Regions from separate parts of the Homo sapiens genome. Here region 2 is linked to region 1. Evidence: promoter capture Hi-C in 16 types of primary human blood cells and fetal thymus (Javierre and others, 2016). All regions are on one chromosome and are shown on one strand. Each heading gives the region's core, a stretch centred on a gene start or on the middle of the fragment in contact. The rest is flanking DNA. Distances are from core to core; before and after follow the strand shown.

Region 1 (4,442 bases), core at 894-3,393:
TTGTCAAGTGGCTGGGACTACAGGTCCACAGGCCCACACCACTACTCCCGGCTAATTTTCTTTTTCTTTTTTTTTTTGAGACGGAGCCTCACTCTGTCGCTCAGGCTGGAGTGCAGTGTCTCGATCTCGGCTCACTGCAACCTCCGTCTCCCAGGTTCAAGTGATTCTCCTGCCTCAGCTTCCTGTCTGCTGCCTCAGCCTCCCGAGTAGCTGGGATTATAGATGTGCGCCACCACGCCCAGCTAATTTTTGTATTTTTAGTAGAGACAGGGTATCACCATGTTGGCCAGGCTGGTCTCGAACTCCTGACCTCATGTGATCCGCCTGCCTCGGCCTCCCAAAGTGCTGGGATTACAGGCATGAGCCACCCGGCGCGCGCCCCTTTTTTTGTATTTTTTTGTAAGGACGGGGTTTGGCCGTGTTGCCCAGGCTGGTCTTGAACTCCTGGGCTCAAGGGATCCACACGCCTTGGGCTCCCAAAGTGCTGGGATTACAGCCTGCTTCTTAATGTCACTAACTCTTCACCCAAGTCCTAGGCGCTTGTGCCTGCTGTGCCAGTCCCAGGCCGCAGGCTGGCACCGTAGCTATAAAGGGCGCCAGAAAAAAAGATTTTGCTAGATAGCGATGAATTCCCCAATCACAGAAAGGAGATACTGCGGATGCTTATCAGCCGAATACCAGTAAGTGTCCCTTGCAGAATGGGATTAGAGACTGCAAACTGCAGGCCTGCCAACAGAGGGTGCTCTGTGGGAAATTATGTGAAAACGTAGAAAAGAGCGCGAGCCAGTAATTTAAAAATCGACGTCCAAATACTCACTGGGTCACCTATCAGCTATGTAATTTGGGCAGGTAAATAAGCTTTTGTTTCTTTTTTTTTTTTCCTCATAAATGGACTAGGAATATTACTCCTACCTACCTGGCATGGCCGATGTGCGAGAAAATGAGATAATCTCGTGGACAGGCTCTGAAAACTGCACTTTTACTGAGTAAAAAACCCTTTGCCTCTCCGGGCCCCCGTTTCCCCATCTGTAAAATGAGTCTGTAAAGTGAGAATGATACTCCCTACGCCGCAAGGCTCTTGCGGGTTAAACTGGAATATTATAAATGCACCATTTATTTGCAGATTGAAATTCTGTGCGTCCGGAGGTGGCGGGTGGGAGAGGGAATGAGCAGGGATGCAGGGTAGGCCCTGAGTTGCTGGGGGCTCAGCATGGCCGCTGCGCACATTGCATCATTTTGTCGACACTGGTGTGGGTGAAATCTTCCAAAAGAAATTAAAACAGAAAAAAAAAAAAAGAAGGGTCTGGGACTTAGCAGAAACAAGCCACAATCTCCAGATTCTACTATTCCTGGGCCACGTGAGGAGCGCCCACCCGTCTGGCGCTGCGTTCCCCGGGGCGTCCCAGCCTCTCCCGCCCAGCCCGCCGCCCTCCTCCCCCATGGCCACCAAGGTCAGGCTCTCGCAGGGAAAACGTCTTCAGGGGCTAAACATCGGTTTTAAACGAAATGGAAAACCTCCAACACGAATCAACAGCAGAGGAAAAGCAGACGCCAAACAAGCGCTCAGAACCCCTTCAGGGGCGGCGTGGTAGCTCTTCCCGGGGAACAGCGAGGGGCGCGGATGTCCCTCTTCCTAAAACTGCACGCGGGGTGCGATCCGAGACCCAGCGGCGGCGAGCGCGCCCGAGTCTGCTCGCGGGCGCCAGGCGCGCGGAGAGCGGCGGCTGCGCCTGCGCCAACGCCGTCAGTCCGCGGGGCCCGATCCCGACACCTAACTCCACAGAGAAGCTCTGCTCCTAAGGGAAAGGGAAGACTTCAGCCACAGTTTCGCAGCCAACCTGGCGACCTCACCTCTCTGGCGACCTCACTTCCCAGCCGGCTCCGTTTAAGAAAACCCCGCGCAGGACCGCGCCCGCCCCCGCGCCCGCGCCCGCCCCCGCCCCCTCGCGCCCGCCCCCTCGCGCCCGCCCCCTCGCGCCCGCCCCCTCGCGCCCGCCCCCTCGCGCCCGCCCCCTCGCGCCCGCCCCCTCGCGCCCGCCCCCTCGGGTAACAAACATGGCCCCCGGCGGGGCGGAAGCGCTTCCGCCCCCAACGAAGATGGCGGAGGGGGCGGGACTAAAAGGGCGTAGGTAGATCGCCGGGGGCTGACGAGTGCACCATGGCCACCGCGGCAACCTCACCCGCGCTGAAGCGGCTGGATCTGCGCGACCCTGCGGCTCTTTTCGAGACGCATGGAGCGGAGGAGATCCGCGGGCTGGAGCGCCAGGTTCGGGCCGAGATCGAGCACAAGAAGGAGGAGCTGCGGCAGATGGTGGGCGAACGGTACCGCGACCTGATCGAGGCGGCCGACACCATCGGCCAGATGCGCCGCTGCGCCGTGGGGCTAGTGGACGCCGTGAAGGCCACCGACCAGTACTGCGCCCGCCTCCGCCAGGCCGGCTCGGCCGCGCCCCGGCCACCGCGGGCCCAGCAGGTCAGTCCCCGTGCCCCCACCCTGCGACCCGCAGGCGGGTCCCGGAGCCCCTGGCCTTGCAGGTCAACCCCGCCCCCCTCTGTCAGTCCCAGACCCCGCGAGTCCTCACCTTCCTTAGCCAGGAGCCTATCCGCCCCTCACCCTTTGGGCCCCCCTCAGAGGACAGTGCCAGCCTTCCTTGCACATATGCGGCTGCTGATCCGTTCTGGAAATGCCATTCAACAGTTTCTTCAGGCGCTTTCCCCCGACTTCCGGGCCTTGATTCCTACACCTCACTGGGCTCCTTTCAATTTTAGCGGAAAACGCCAGGAGTTTCTGTCTTGACAGTTCAACGCTCACCTATATAACATGTCCTGACATTGTTTTTCCTCAGGTTTCTCCCCTATGTTGACACCTGCACTCCAAGTCATTTCTTCCTCATCCCAACCTTCCCCTTATCTCCCCAAGAATAACTTCCACAACCCCAAATAGCTGTTCTACCCTTTGGGAGTTGTTGAGGGTACCAGCTATCAAGCCCTTAACTTTATGTATGTATGTGACAGGGTCTCCCAAAGTGCTGGGATTACAGTCATGAGCCACCACAGCCGGCCAAGCCCTTACCTTTTAATAGCTGAACATTTTCATTTTCAGAACTAAGGCTTTTTTCATTCAGGTTCTCCTTATCCCGTGTTCTTCCCCCCAAACGCTATTGATTAGACACAATGAGGAAGGATGGGAGGTAAACAAACACATCCTCATATTGGAGCTGCAGCTTGCGTTCCTAAAGAATTTTTATTGGCCGGGTGCGGTGGCTCACGCCTGTAATCCCAGCACTTTGGGAGGCCGAGGCGGGTGGATCACGAGGTCAGGAGATCCAGACCATCCTGGCTAACACGGTGAAACCCCGTCTCTACTAAAAATACACAAAATTAGCCAGGCGTGGTGGCCGGCGCCTGTAGTCCCAGCTACCTGGGAGGCTGAGGCAGGAGAATGGCATGAACCCGGGAGGCGGAGCTTGCAGTGAGCCGAGATCGCGCCACTGCACTCCAGCCTGGGCCACAGAGCGAGACTCTGTCTCAAAAAAAAAAAAAAAAAGAATTTTTATTTCTTTATTTTTTGAGACAGGATCTCGCTCTGTCACCCAGGCTGGAGTGCAGTGGCGCGATCTCGGCTCACTGCAACCTCCGCCTCCCGGGTTCAAGCGATTCTCCTGCCTCAGCCACCCGCGTAGCTGGGATTACAGGCACCTGCCACCATGTCCGACTAATTTTTGTACTTTCAGTAGAGACGGGGTTTCACCATATTGGCCCGGCTGGTCTCCAACCCCTGACCTCATGTGATCTGCCTGCCTTGGCCTCCCAAAGTGATGGGATTACAGGCGCGAGAGCCACCGCGCACGGCCCCTTAAAGAATATAGACCTAGCAATGAACGAAGTGAAAGGGCATGAAGGGTGAAAAAGGTAAACAGTTAGTTGTTTTTAACAGCCTGGGAGAACTTACTGGGACATAGAAGAAAAAATTGAAAAGTACAGTCTAACTCCAATTTGGAACTTGTTCATGCTATCTGAGCTTTACAGAAATCCTGGTCAGTAGACTGGACTGACACAATAAAACTATAGGAAGTTGCAAATAAGTTTGCATATTTTTGAAATGAGTGACCTCATCCCTCCCAAAGCTAACATTTAGTACACGTGTCCCCTTAGGTGGCCAGCCTTTGCTGTAACTGAGTCATGCTTCAGGGTTTATTAAAACGCTAACTTGAATTATGCCTGATTTTAGAAACGTATTGATTTTCATAGTTGTTATATCTGGTTTATTCTCGGTTAACCCTACAAAAATTTGAGTGTCTTCTTCGTTCACATTACAAAGAAACAGAAGTCCCCCAATTCCTGCTCTGAAGGAGCTTACAACCTGGTCGAGGAAATAAATCCATGGAAACTTGACGAGAAAAAAATGTAAAAAAATTTAGAATAACAGGTCAGGCGCTGTG
Region 2 (4,241 bases), core at 809-3,308, 350 kb before region 1:
AAATAAAAAATTAGGACACCTAACTCTCAAACAGCCCCTCCTCTCTTAGAATGGAGGGCAGGTACCCAATGCACCAGTTCTTCTAGGTGCTCAAGTATATAATACATATTGAATACATCAAAGCTTCAGTATGTGTTATAACATTGGGCCCCCCAAAAAGAACGCAGTATAGAACTTCTTGCAAGAAGCTCCATCTATCAGGGGCAAATAAACATGTTTAAATACAGGTAATTGCATCCATCAAGAGTTGAATGAATAAAGAAAATATGGTACATACACACAATGGCGTATTATTCAGCCACATAAATGAATGAGATCCGGTCATTTGCAACAACATGGATGGAACTGGAGGTTATTATGTGAAGTGAACTAAGCCAGGCATGGAAAGACAAACTTCTCATGTTCTCACTTATTTGTGGGAGCTAAAAATTAAAACAATTGAACTCATGGAGATAGAGAGGAGAAGGATGTTTACCAGAGGCTGGGAAGGGCAGTCGGGGAGTCGGGGGAAAGTAGTGATGGTTAATAGGTACAAAAAAAAATAGATGAGTCAGACCTAGTAGTTGACAGCACAACAGGGTGGCTATAGTCAATAATATAATAATTGTACATTTTAAAATAACTACAAGTATAACTGGATTGTTGGTAACACAGAGGATAAATGCTTAAGTTGATGGGTTATGCATTACATACCTGTATCAAAATATTTCATGCAGGCCAGGCGAGGTGGCTCACACCTGTAATCCTAGCACTTTGGGAGGCTAAGGCGGGAGAATCTATTGAGCCCAGGAGTTCGAGACTAGCCTAGGCAACATGGCAAAACCCTGTCTCTACAAAAAATACAAAAAAAAAAAGAAATTAGCTGGGTGTGGTGGTATGCACCTGTAGTCCCAGCTACTCAGGAGGCTGAGGTGGGAGGATCAACTGAGCCCAAGGTTGAGGCCGCAGTGAGCCATGATCACACCACTGCACTCCAGCCTGAGTGACAGAGAGAGATCTTGTCTCAAAAAACTATGTGTGTGTGTGTGTGTGTGTGTGCACGCACGCGCATATGTATTTCATGGCCCCATAAATATACATACCTATGTTACTGACAAAAATTAAAAATAAATAAATAAATAAAACACACAAACAGGTAATTGTAAGTCAGAGTGATAATTATGGTAACAGAAGATAAAGGATACAGCAAGACAGCACAAAGGAAGGAGTGATTAACTTTGTTAAATAAATGAAATTAATAATAAATATTTCTATGATTCTTCACAGTTATCATCCAATGCTAAGGCTAGAAGGAGCCATAACAATAATTTACCACAATCCCCTAAATTTTCAAATGAATGAATGTTTGAATGAGATAACCCCTAGAATCTCTTTAAGCTTCCAATTTAACTTTCTCCCATACAAAGCAATGGTGCAGTTCACTGTTGAGACCATAAGGTACTCATGATAAGTGATTAGTAGGAACTCAATTGCTAGGTGATTTTTAATGCCATTCAAAAACAGAAGGGCCAGGAATCTTTGGAAGGCTCAGAGCCCTTCAATCTGTATGATACTGCATGGACAGCACTTCAAGAGACAGTATGCTCAAAAGGCTGCAGTCTCGGGTTGGTTTTCTAAAAAACCATGTTGTTTCCTCAGGGTGTCCTTCTGCAGCAGACACAAACACCCTAGACCACCCCCACAGATGCACCCAGGCAGGCGCCACGGAAGTAGCTTAGAAGGAGGCGGGTGGTGTCTGCACTCTGTTTCTGGAGTCTGCCTTTTAGTGCTCTTTTTACTGCGCCTGCCTGCATCTGCTGGTCTGCATCAGTCATTACCATTTCTTCCTAAGACATTTCAATTGCACAACTATACTTTTCTTTGTCCTCTAAAGGGGAGGGTTTTTTGCTTATTTGTTTTTTTCTGAGATGGAGTCTTGCTCTGCCTCCAGGCTGGAGTGCCATGGTGCGATCTCGGCTCACTGCAACCTCTGCCTCCTGGGTTCAAGTGATCCTCCTGCCTCAGCCTCCCAAGTAGCTGGGATTACAGGCACGTGCCACCACGCCCAGCTAATTTTTATATTTTTAGTAGAGACGGGGTGTCATCATGTTGGCCAGGATGGTTTCTATCTCCTGACCTCGTGATCTGCCTGCCTCAGCCTCCCGAAGTGCTGGGATTACAGGCCGTGAGCCACCGCGCCCGGCCTGGGGAGGGGTTCTTTCCTGTTCTAGGGTTGTGGATAGACTCCATAAAGTCTAAACACCCAGAATTGTCTGCAAAATATTGTGTGTGGCTGTGGTCTCAAGGTTTATGTCTCCCCAGAATTCATATTTGGAAACCTAATCCCCAATGGTATTGTTATTAGGATGGTGGGGACTTAGGGAATGAATGGTATTAGGAGGTGGGGACTTGGGGAAGTGATTAGGTCGTGAGATGGAGCTCTTATGAATGGGATTAACAACCTCATGAAATGAGACTCCAGAGAGTGCCCTCTTTCCACCATGTGAGGATACAACGAGAAGACAGTCACCTGCAACCCGGAGAAGGACCCTCACCAGAACCTGACCACGACCATGCTGGCAGCCCGATCTCAGGCTTCCAGCTTCCAGAACTGCGAGAAATAAATTTCTGTTGTTTCTAAGCTACCCATTGTATGGCATTTTGTAATGGCAGCCTGAACAGACTAAGACATGTGTACAACATCCTCTTGTGAGATGGTGTATAGCTCTTATCAGATTCACAGGACAACTGTGAACCACAGAAGCTTAAGAACTATTTGACCTTGCACATGTGTATTAAATATTAACCCAAGAGCCCCAGACGTGTGCATATGCCTTCGGGTGTGGCCTCACACTCTGGATACCTCCGGGAGATAGGCTACTATTAACAAGCCTTCCATTTTCCTTCTACTCCAAAAAAAAATTTTTTTTAGCAAAATGTCATCCTCAGGACATACTAAACTGAAATAGCAAAGACAAAAAACTTCAAAAAAAAAAATCGATTCTCCATTTAGTCATTGTGAAAAGTCTGTCTTAAAAACCCAGAGTCTCAGGGAATGTCAAAGCTCTAGTTAAATTTTTAATACACTATAAAGGATAGTGTTAAAGAAGAGACCTTTTCAAAGGTAAGTTGGCTCCAAACAGGCTCTTAAAATGGTCCTCATCAAAGACATGAAGCTGCTTGACAGTGATGGTGAGGGAGTTCACTTCTCTTTAGACAGGATTAGGAGCTGAAGACTTGAGGAATGAGCCACAGTGGGTCTTTGGAGACACATCTATTTGTAGTTAGACCCTTGGTGGCTTCATCCAGTGTCAGGGGTTTAAGTAACATTCATGTGCCAAGGGACCAGGCGCAGTGGCTCACGCCTGTAATCCCAGCACTTTGGGAGGCCAAGGCAGGTGGATCAGTTGAGTCCAGGAGTTCAAGACCAGCCTGACCAATATGGCAAAATCTTGCCTCAACCAAAAATACAAAAAGTAGCCAGGTGTCGTGGCATGCGCCTGTAGTCCCAACCACTTGAGAGGCCGAGGCAGGAGAACCTCTTGAACCCAGGAGGTGGAGGTTGCAGTGAGCCAAAATTGCGCCACTGCACTCCAGCCTGGGCATCAGGGCAGACTCTGTCTCAAAAACAAAAAACAAAAAAACAAAAAACATTCATGGGCCAATGATTCAGAAATCTATAACTCTAGCTAGACTTTGCAAGCCAACTCCAAACTCATGTATCCAGCTGTCTAGTCAGTATCTCCATTTGAATGTCTAATGGCAATCAAACCTCACAATCAAAAAACAAATTCCTGATAGTCCCCCTAAAGCCCCTGGAGCTGCAGCCTTCCTCGTCTCAGTTGATGGCAATTCCATCCCTGCAGCTGGGCAGCCCTGAAACCTCCGGGTCCCTCCTGGCTCCTCGCTTTCTCTCATATCCCACATCCAATCCATCGGCAAATCCCATTGGCTCCACCTTCAATCGGGACCCAGGAAGGGATCCCTTCTCACCACATCCAGCACGACCACCTTGGTCTGCACCACTATCATCTTTGATCTGGATTCTGCAGTGGCCTCTACATAGGCCTCCCTGCTTCCATCCTTACCTCTCCTAAGTCCCATCTCAATTCAGTATCTAAAGAGAAACAAACTTTCAAAGCTCAAGTCAAGTCATACACACCCTCTTCAAAACTCTGCAATGGCTCATCACACACAGAGCAAAAACAAACATTCTTATGCCTCCAAGTTCCATCTAAAGGAGGGGCTGACATCCCTGCCCT

Evidence for each region. Contacts are between HindIII fragments. The CHiCAGO score rates a contact against its expected background, and 5 or more counts as called.
Region 2: a contact is called between a fragment that was not itself captured here and the fragment with the promoter of COG1 in region 1, in 1 of 17 cell types (M0 macrophages). The highest score is 5.8, in M0 macrophages.

What each region holds. Positions count from the first base shown.
Region 1 is chr17:73,190,912-73,195,353 of GRCh38, forward strand. It overlaps COG1 (component of oligomeric golgi complex 1), which reads left to right and starts at 2,144. Exons shown (of 14, transcript NM_018714.3): 1 at 2,144-2,473. The coding sequence starts at 2,159. RefSeq lists enhancers at 1,371-2,130, 1,416-1,465, 2,096-2,375 and a silencer at 2,426-2,635. The HindIII fragment of the contact is 5,644 bases long and covers 857-4,442 here.
Region 2 is chr17:72,841,065-72,845,305 of GRCh38, forward strand. All of the region lies in intron 6 of SLC39A11 (solute carrier family 39 member 11), which reads right to left. Among named protein-coding and RNA genes, the nearest start is that of LINC00511, 200 kb to the left of the region's middle. The HindIII fragment of the contact is 1,366 bases long and covers 1,376-2,741 here.